Regions from separate parts of the Homo sapiens genome. Here region 1 is linked to region 2. Evidence: promoter capture Hi-C in human tissues and cell types (Jung and others, 2019). All regions are on one chromosome and are shown on one strand. The core of a region is centred on a gene start or on the middle of the fragment in contact, and the rest is flanking DNA. Distances in the headings are between cores, read along the strand shown.

Region 1 (4,347 bases), core at 649-3,148, 55 kb before region 2:
GGCCACTGGGCCAGGAGCCTGAGCTGTGGGCTCTGTGGTGGGTGGATGCTGGTTTTCTTCACTGGTACGGGAGAAAATGGGGATCCTGAGAGATCCCATGGAGAAGCTTCCAGCAAGCTGGGCCTGGATCCCAGCCCGCCTCTGCTCAGGTGTTCATAGTTGTGGACGCTGAGTATCTGCCGGTCCTAGTCCCTCGGAGGGACCCATGCACTCCAGGACGCAGCCTCAGACCCAGGGAGGTGGTATCATGCACTGACGATGGCAAGGCCTCCTGGAAGCCCCTGGGGCAAAACCTCTTGGCAGTGCTCAAGGCCCCACACTGGAAAGTGGACACAGCACAGTGATTTGCCATGCCCAGGCCGGTGCAGAGCAGCAGGCAGCCCACGTCACTCTCCTGGGCCATCTCTCTGCAGGGGACAGCCACCATCCGAGCCCCCCATCCAGGGGTTCCCATGTGGGGACACCTTCTGGCAGCCCAGCTGAGCTCCCACCCCTAGCAAACACTGCCGGCCTCTCACCCCAGAGCGCTTTCAATGGCAGCAGCCTCCAAGGGCACCCACTGAGAGACCCCAACTGAGAGCCCCCAACCACGCCCTCCGAACTCCTGGCCAGTGGGACGGTGAGTGAGGAGGCCCGAGATCTGCCTCACAACTCGGTAACAGAGCAGAGCATGCCTGCTCCAAGCCGGGGTTCTCTCCAGACATGGAAGGAGGGAGGGAGAGAAGGAGGGAGGGAGGGAAGGAGGGAGGGAGGGGAAGGGGGAGGGGAGGGGAGGGACCAGGGAGGATAATGAAAAGGACCTGGCACTATTTGTAGAGACACACTTCTGCCCACTGAGAAGGTCCTCGGCCTTGATGTCCAGCTCTGCGGTGACGGAACCTGGACAGAGAGAGCAGGACCCCAGCATGAGAGTAGCAATGGACGTCACAGCAAAACATCCACGTTTCACAGTCACGACTTCCAGGAGCAAACCGAGCCTCTCCAGCAGCAGGGTGAGAGGTGACAGGGCACAGTTGAGGAGTCCCAGGGCTGCCGCGATAGGGGTGCCCACACAGGGCTTCAACAACGGGCGTCCACTCCCTCGCAGTCTGGAGTCCCACGTCCCAGATGGAGGTGCGGGCAGGGCCGTGCTGCCTCTGAAGGTTCTGCAGGAGCACCCTTCCTGCGTCTTCCACTCCTGGTGGCTCCAGGCGTCCTTGGCTTGTGGCCGCATCACCCCACTGTCTACTCTGTCGTCTCAGCCTCCTTCTCCTCCTCTCTGTGTCTGAGTCTGGATTTCCCTCTTCCTGTGAGGACACCCATCACCAGGTTCAGGGCCCACCCTACCCCCATATCTCATCTGAACTAATTCCACCGGCAAAGAGCCTATTTCCAAATAAGGTCACATTCTGAGGTTCTGGATGAACATGACTTTACGGGGGACACCGTCTAACCCTGAACATATGGTGTCGGGAGCAGGCACTGCAGGAACTGAGGTGAATCTGTTTCCATCTCTGTGACTCCTGGACACCCCAGACAGCCTTAGAGCCATGGGGAGGCCGCAGTGCCACCAGTCAGGCTGGAGACCCCTAAGTGGGTGCCCAGACAGGGCCCATGGCAGGAGGGCAGTGGGCACAGAGGAGGAAGGCCGGGCTGCTCCCTGCTTCTCCTCTCCCTCCTCCTTCTCCACTGGAAAGTTCCACAGAAGAGTCATCTGGAGGTGAGCAAGGACTCAGTAGGGCTATTGCCCTGGAGAGGAGGCGGCCGAGGAAGGAGAGCCCAGCACGGCTCTCGGAGGCTTCGCAGGGAGTAGGAGTCAAATACCTGGGAGGAACGAGGGCCCTCTCCAGGAAGAAAATGTCTCCAAACCCTCAGAACCCTCCGCAGACCTCATTGCCAAACAAAGAAACATGTTTTCTCAAGTTCCATCCTCAGCTTCAAGATGACCCTGCGTGGGCGAGCTGTGTTTGTTTGACCCCAGCTGGAGAGGAGGGGCCTGTGGTCACAGCCCAGTCACCAGCCCAGTCTCGGGTTCTTGGCCCCATACAGGCGCTGAAGAAAGGCAAGGGGGCTGGGGTCGCTGTGGGTGGTGCCACGTGGGAGGACGCGTGTTAGAGGCACACAGCCGGTGTAGGTCCCTCCCTTTGTCACTGGCCAGCAGTGTTCTGCCCCCGGTCAGCTATTTCCCTTCCACAGGCCTCAGTTCCCCTCTGAAAACACCAGCATCACCGGCCAGTGGTAAAAATTAAACACGCTCTTAATCTTCCAGGCTCTGTCCTGGACACACGGTGACCATCACCAGCATGAGTCAAAGGCCACAAACCAGGCATGTGTGGCTTCAGGACGAATGGACTGCACCCACACCCCATTCAGTGGGGTGACCCCTTCCTGCTTCATCCTGCTCCCCAGCAGCCACCTCCTCCCTCGGGGTGCTGGCTCTCCCCAGACGCACAGCAGCCCGCACAGACCCGTGGCCTGTGTCCTGTCTCCCCATCCCCCCAGGACAGCCAGGCTGTGTAGACAGGGCAGGGGACCAGCATCTTCTGAGGCCCCAGACACGGCTCCTCACACACCTCCACCCCGCAAGGGGGATCCTCACGGGGCAGCAGTGATGCCCCACGGAGTGTCCTGGAGGGTGGGGCAGGGTGAGCGCCCATGCAGGCAGGGCAAGGCCATGCAAGGCAGGCTCCCCATCTCCGGCTCATCAAACATCTGCTGCCGCGGGCCCGCCCAGAGAAAAGTGGGATCAAGGCCTACAGGGGCTCCTGCCTCGCGCTCTGCTGGGGTCCCCAGGGAGGTGAAGCCTTTGCTGGTCCACTGCGGCCCTAAAGGCTGCAGTTGAGACACCCGGGCTGCCAGCTCCAGACTTACAGGGGCATCTCCACCCTTTACATGCCTAAACCACCCCCCGACCCCTCCTTCTCCCACACTGGGACCCTCCCAGGGCACTAGACCCCACCCGGCCCCAAGGTCCCCAGGGGCCATAAGACCCCCCTCCCACCCCACCCCAGGAGGAACACTGCCCGTAGCTCACTGAGGCAACGTCCAGCCTCTAAGCCCAGAAGCTGCCTGTGCTGGAAAATCACCTCCCATTTCCGGGTGAGGCCTGGGCCGGGAGAGTGCTCTCTCCCCACCCTCTGCACCCCGCCCCAGCTTCTTCCCCTGCCTGCCATGTGCCTCGGCCCCCAGGAGCCCCAGTCCCCGCCCACAGCCTGCAGCAAAGCCCCATTCACACCTCCTATGACATGGTCCTGCTGCCCTCCAGAACCCTATCGCCTAGTGCAGGACGGGTGACCAGCAGGCAGGGCACAGCAGCTAGGAGCAGCTCCTAGGAGCCCCCGAGCCCCGCCCTGGCTGATGCCTCCTGGGCCATGTCTGACACATGCTCAGAAGCCCATTTCTCAGATGCGGTATCCTCAGCCTTTGGGAGGGATTTGCGACACTTGAGCAGGGCCCTGAAGCATGTGTAGGAGTTCTCCTATCCCGACTTTCAGGCCACCTGTGGTCAGGGGGCTCCCTGTGCTGCCCGAGGTCCCACCGTGCCTGCTGCACTAGCTGGGGTGCCCTCCCTTTCAGCGGTCCTCAAAGGAGTCTCACCACGCTAGGAAATTGTAAACCCCAGCCTCAGCCTGCACGGTCCCCTCCCCCTGAGGCGCCCCTCATTGTCTTGTCCCCTCTTCTGTGGGTGCTCCCTGACCCTCCTTTTCCCCCTCCAGGCTGGCCCCAGGCGCTCCCTCTCCTCCTACAGCCCTGAGAGGTCATAGCTTTGACCTCCCCACATTGCCAGCACTCACGTCTGGGTCTCTGTCTCTCCCACCAGAATAGGGGCTCCTTTACGGATGGGGGTCCTGTCCAGCTCCTCCCTGAACCCCGGAAGGCACAGGGAAGGAGCCACTCTGTGACTCCAATTCCAAGACTGCCTCTGAGCTTCATAACTGCCTCCCTCTCTGCCATTGAGGGCTCATGCATTTTAAAACTTTCTCCGGAGGAATAATTCACTCTTTGCCATGACCCAGTTATCTTTCCAGTTTCTGGGCAGAGGTGCTGAGCGATGTTCTGAGGGTGGCTTGGTGAGCAGGCTGGCAGCGGGAGAAGGGTCTCACCTGCAGGCTGCCCAGGGGCTCTTCCTCCCACCCTCCCGGGCCCGAGGCCCCTTCCCACACCCCTAGCTCCACAGCAGCAAAGCGGGGCTGTGGGGTGGGCCAATGCCTCGAGGCGTCACCACAGCCAGGCTCTGGAGCAGAGGGCCCTGCGTCTGTGTGCGCTGCCTTTGCAGCCTCAGTTCAGGCTCAGGCGCAGCTCTAAGCCTCAGTTTCCCCAGCAGTAAATGGGCTGGTTCGGGGATTCCATGAGTTGACACCTGTTGTC
Region 2 (4,612 bases), core at 1,399-3,898:
TTTTCACTGAGGAAACAACTAAGAGATTTGAGCAGCATTATCTAGGTAATTGGAGGTTAGAAAATACTAGCATTATCAGTCAGTGTACTGATGGTATTTTCATCTACCACACAGACGGGAGTTGCAGAAACCTATTTATGTATTGTTACAGGGACTCCAGATCTTAGAGTTTGGTTTTGAGCCCTCGACCCCATATAGAACTTGATCCTGTTCCTTTCATGCACATCTATAAACCCCACCCAGGGGGTTCAAATGGGTTTTGCATTTATCAGACTTCTCCATGATTGGCATAGTCTTCCTGGTGAGACCTGGAGTGTGGCTCCCAGACACCCAAACTTGGCTGGAGTCCTGAAGCAGGCGCAGCTAATCTGGCTGATCTACTCCTTCACACTCGTGGAGCAGATGGGGAAACAGACCAGAGGGGCAGCCCAGGAAGCAAATTTGGATGATCCAAATCTCAAAGCTGAGTTGGAATCTGTGGACAAAGCTTCTAAAGTCATACGAGTGATGTGTGGTGTTTGGATGGATGGATGGATGGATGGATGGATGGATGGATGGATGGATAGATGGGTGGATAGAGGATGGATGATGGGTCTTTGGGTAGATGGGTAGATGGGTGGATGGATAGGTGGGTGGACCACAGTCTGATGGGTAGATGGGTTGATAGGTGGTTGTTTGAGTAGGTGGATAGAATGGATGGATAGAAGTTTTATGAGGGTATGGGTGAATGGGGAGTAGTGGATAAGTAGGTGAAGCAGTCAATGGGTAAGTGAGTGAATGTGTAGGAGGATCATGCATGAATGGGTGAGTGGATGTCATGGGTATATGGGTATAGGAGAGGTAGATAAGTATGTGTACAGATGGGCAAAGGGAAGGATGTGGGCGTGTTATGGGGTGGTTGGGTAGGTTGACGGATGGATGGGTGGATAAGTATTGTGTTACATGGGAGAAAACAAGTTTAGTTAGGTTGATGGGTGAATGGATGAGTGAGTAGTTGGATATAGACATGGAAGCTGGCTAGCTGGGTGGATGGATGATGGGTGAGTGAATGGATGGGTGGGTGATGAAAGAAAGGGAGGACGGATGGGTGGATGGATGGATGAGTGAGTGAATGAATGGATAGGTGGGTGAATGGAATAGGTGGATGGATGGATGGACGGATGGATGGATGGATGGATGGATGGATGGATGGATGGATGATGAAAGAAAGAAAGCATGAAAGGATGGGTGGGTGAATAGAATAGGTGGATGAATGGATGGATGGTTGGAAGGATGGATAGATAAGTGAATAATGAATGGGTGGACGAATATGTGGATGAATGGATGGATGGGTGGATAGATGGATGATGAAAGAAAGAAAGGGTGAATGGATGGGTGGATGGGAGAGTGAATAAATGAATGGGTGGATGAATGGGTAGATGGATGGATGGGTGGATGGATGAATGAATGAGTGAGAGGATGGGTGGGTGATGAAAGAAAGGAAGGATGAAAGGGTGGACGGGTAGGTGGATGAATGTATGATAGGATGGAAGCTGGCTGGATGTGGGGGTGGATGAGTTGAATGGACAGATGGGTAAGAGGGTGAGTAAGTGGGTGGATGGTGAAGGAATTAATAATGTTATTATTATAAACATTATTATTATTATATGAATAAGTTTCTGGTTTAGAAGACTAGTATCCTTCTGAGAGCTCTCTCAGAGTGTCAGGCTCTACAAATTTGCTTCCTTGGGCTGCCCCTCTCTGGGTTGTTTCCCCATTTGCTCCATGAGTGTGAAGGAGTAGATTGGCCAGATTAGCTGCGCCTGCTCCAGGGGCCCAGCCCAAGCCCAGGTGCCTGGGAGTCACACTCCAGGACACTCGACCCCTGCCCTCTGGGGCCAGGGTCAGCAGCCTCTGGCCAGACCCCTCTTCTTAAAACAAGCTCAGGTAGGGAGAGAACACTGCCCTGCTGGTGGTTGCCATGGAAAATCCTTCATTGCTTGTTTTTCTCCTCGACTGATTAAGAAAAGGGAGTCATAAAATGACAGGGCGTCACTGGGCCTTGCCGCTGGCCAGCTTTGACTTATCCCCTGACATTTCCCAGGAGCCAGCTAACCTTTTCTGCCACAAATAGACTGAAGCGGGTCCCTTGAGGCAGTCTAGCCTGAACAGAGTCCATCTCAGGGGAGGTCAGGACCCGGGATACAGCAACAGGAGCCGGGTCATTCAAATAACCAGGAAGGAGAGCAGACAGTGCTGGGACCGAGAGCACAGCGAGGACCCTAAGGAAGCCACCAAAAAACAGCCTTCGCAACAGTCAGGACTGCTGTCAGGACCACCAGGCAGAGCCCAGGGAGCAAACACCTGCTCTCCCTCCCTGGGGTCCCCGCTGTGTTCCCAGGCATGACACTCACCTCCCAGAGCAGCAGCCTGGCCTCTGCTCCTCTCCGGGCAGAAACGACACAGGGATGCTCCCCAGTCAGTGTGCTGGGGTCCTAGGGGCGTTGGCGACGCCGGGGCAGGTTCCACCATAGATCCTGCTGCCTCAATCCAGAGGGCTTTCGGAAGGCGCCCCTGCTATGGCATCGCAGAGGGAGGAGACCCGGGATGTGGCCCAGCAGGGCTGTGTATACACCAAGATGCCTCCGTCTGCCCTTCCAGCTGTAAATCAAGACTCAGCCGTGGAGAGGGAGGATAAAGTCCACAGGGGCTGAACCTCCTCCCCAGCCCTGGTCTCAGCCTCAGGATAGAAGACTTTAACCCCAGAAGGCCCTCAGGAGGCCAGGCAAGCCAACACCCTCGAACCTGTGCCACGATGGGGGGCGATGGGGCGAGGACAGAGCCTGGAGTCACAGACCAGGAAACTGGGTTGCCTCAGCTCACCCAGGGTCCCAAGGCCAGGACAGGGCAGAGCCGAGACCAAAGTCCCTGCGAGGCCGCCCTCATGAAGGGACTCGGGAGGGTTCACTGGGTGAATGGATGAGCCTGTACAGTGAATGAAGGCCGAGCCCACGGCTGGGAGCTGCCATCCCCGGCTTCCTCTGAATACAGACAGCCTGATGCGCAGGTCTCAGATCTGGAAGGGGGCCTGGGCCCCTTGACCCCATCTCTTCATTTACTGCTGGGGAAACCGAGGGCCAGCCTGCCACAGTAATGCCGTGGGTGCCTGAGTCATCTCCTCCTCCTCCTCTTCCTTCTCCTCCTCCTCCTCTTCCTCCCCCTTCCTCATCTCCCCCTTTCCTCCTTCTCTTCCTCTTCCTCCCTTCCTCCCACCCGTCTCCCTCTCCTGAGCCCCAGCTCTGCTCTGCCACCAGGCCTTGTCCCTTTTAGGGTCCAAAAGAGCAGGTCCTGCCCTGGGGCCAGTCAGCATGAAAAGGGATGACCATCTCTTCCTCCAGAGGACAGGGACTCTATGCCCCAGGCACTCCAAGGTCAAACCTGGCTCCCACTCAGACTATGAAGACAGCATCCACTGGGTCAGAGTCATGAAGCCACGGGTCCCAGGGGACAGCTCAGGTGGCCACAGGGCCAGACTGGCAGGCTGCCCTCTGCCTCCTGTTAGCACAAACACCCCTCCCCTCAGGCCTGAACTCTGACATGAGCCAGTGGGCACCGGGCCCTGTCAGGAACAGGAGGAGGCCACAGCCATCCTCAGGAGAGAACAAAGGACACACAGGCCTCCGGGGAGAGCAGTGGGTGGCAGTGACAGGAGGGGCTACTCAGAATTCATGAGCGAGGGCCAGGCAGCTTGGCCACCTTGGAGGAGCCGCTGCACCTATCCAAGCCCAGGTTTCCCTGCTGAAGGCAGCACCGGTGTCTCCTCCTGGGGGTGTTGAGAGGGTCATCCCAGGCCAGGGAGGTCGAAGGGCTCTGTGAGCTGTGAAGCGCTGGGCACCTGTGGGGCGGGGGCGTTCATCCTGCGGTCAGTCTGCCCTGGAGGGCGGAACACCTACGCACTGTTCCAGCGGGAGGGGTATGGCGTCCAGTGAGGCCCAGCTCCCCGAGCCTTTCCTGATGGCACTGGAAGACAGGCAGCATCCCAGAAACATATAAAAGGCCCAGGGGCTGGTGCTGGGGGCACATGACCGGGGCGACCCTGGGCTGGGCTGTGTACCCCCGGAGCACTGCAGCAGACAGAGCAGGGGTGCGAACTCCAGGGTCCCAGGATCCATCTCCTTCCCTGCAACAAACCCCTCTCTGCTGGAAATCCCTGGAGCGGTTCCTCCATCCTGCTCTGAACCTCCTTGACTGATCCCACCGACCGGTGCACTGCACAGCTGCCTGGAGACCAGAAGATTCCATACGTCTCCCTCCACCTGCCCAACACCCACAAGCCCAGGAGGCTGCCCTCCATAATTCTGGCTTTTCTGCGTATTTTTCAAAGCACAGGGCACTGGAAGAATGCCTGCATGAGACATTCTTGCAAGCCAGAGCCCGCTGGAGGCATGCAGGAGAGCAAAACCTCCCTGCTGTGTCTGCAGATTTGCACACATTTCTGGGAAATAAACCTGCGGCCCCTCCTCTCCCCGAGACGTTGGTTTATCTTCCAGGGCAAAAGGATACCGTCTTTTCTGTGGCAAAGATGGGGGCGAGATGGCTAGCAGTCCCCTTAGAAGATCAAGGGTTTCCTCGG

What was found. Contacts are between HindIII fragments. The study calls those that stand out against the background at their distance.
Region 1: a fragment that was not itself captured here is called in contact with the fragment with the promoter of LINC00955 in region 2 in 8 of the 25 tissues and cell types used here (IMR-90 fibroblasts, adrenal gland, bladder and 5 more).

The regions. Positions count from the first base shown.
Region 1 is chr4:3,629,700-3,634,046 of GRCh38, reverse strand. It overlaps LOC112268461 (a long non-coding RNA gene), which reads left to right. Exons shown (of 4, transcript XR_002959775.2): 3 at 414-619; 4 at 817-1,011. Among named protein-coding and RNA genes, the nearest start is that of LINC02171, 46 kb to the left of the region's middle. RefSeq lists an enhancer at 1,876-2,875. The HindIII fragment of the contact is 8,760 bases long and covers 1-4,347 here.
Region 2 is chr4:3,574,905-3,579,516 of GRCh38, reverse strand. LINC00955 (long intergenic non-protein coding RNA 955) reads right to left here and starts at 2,648. Exons shown (of 3, transcript NR_040045.1): 1 at 2,394-2,648. The HindIII fragment of the contact is 13,427 bases long and covers 1-4,612 here.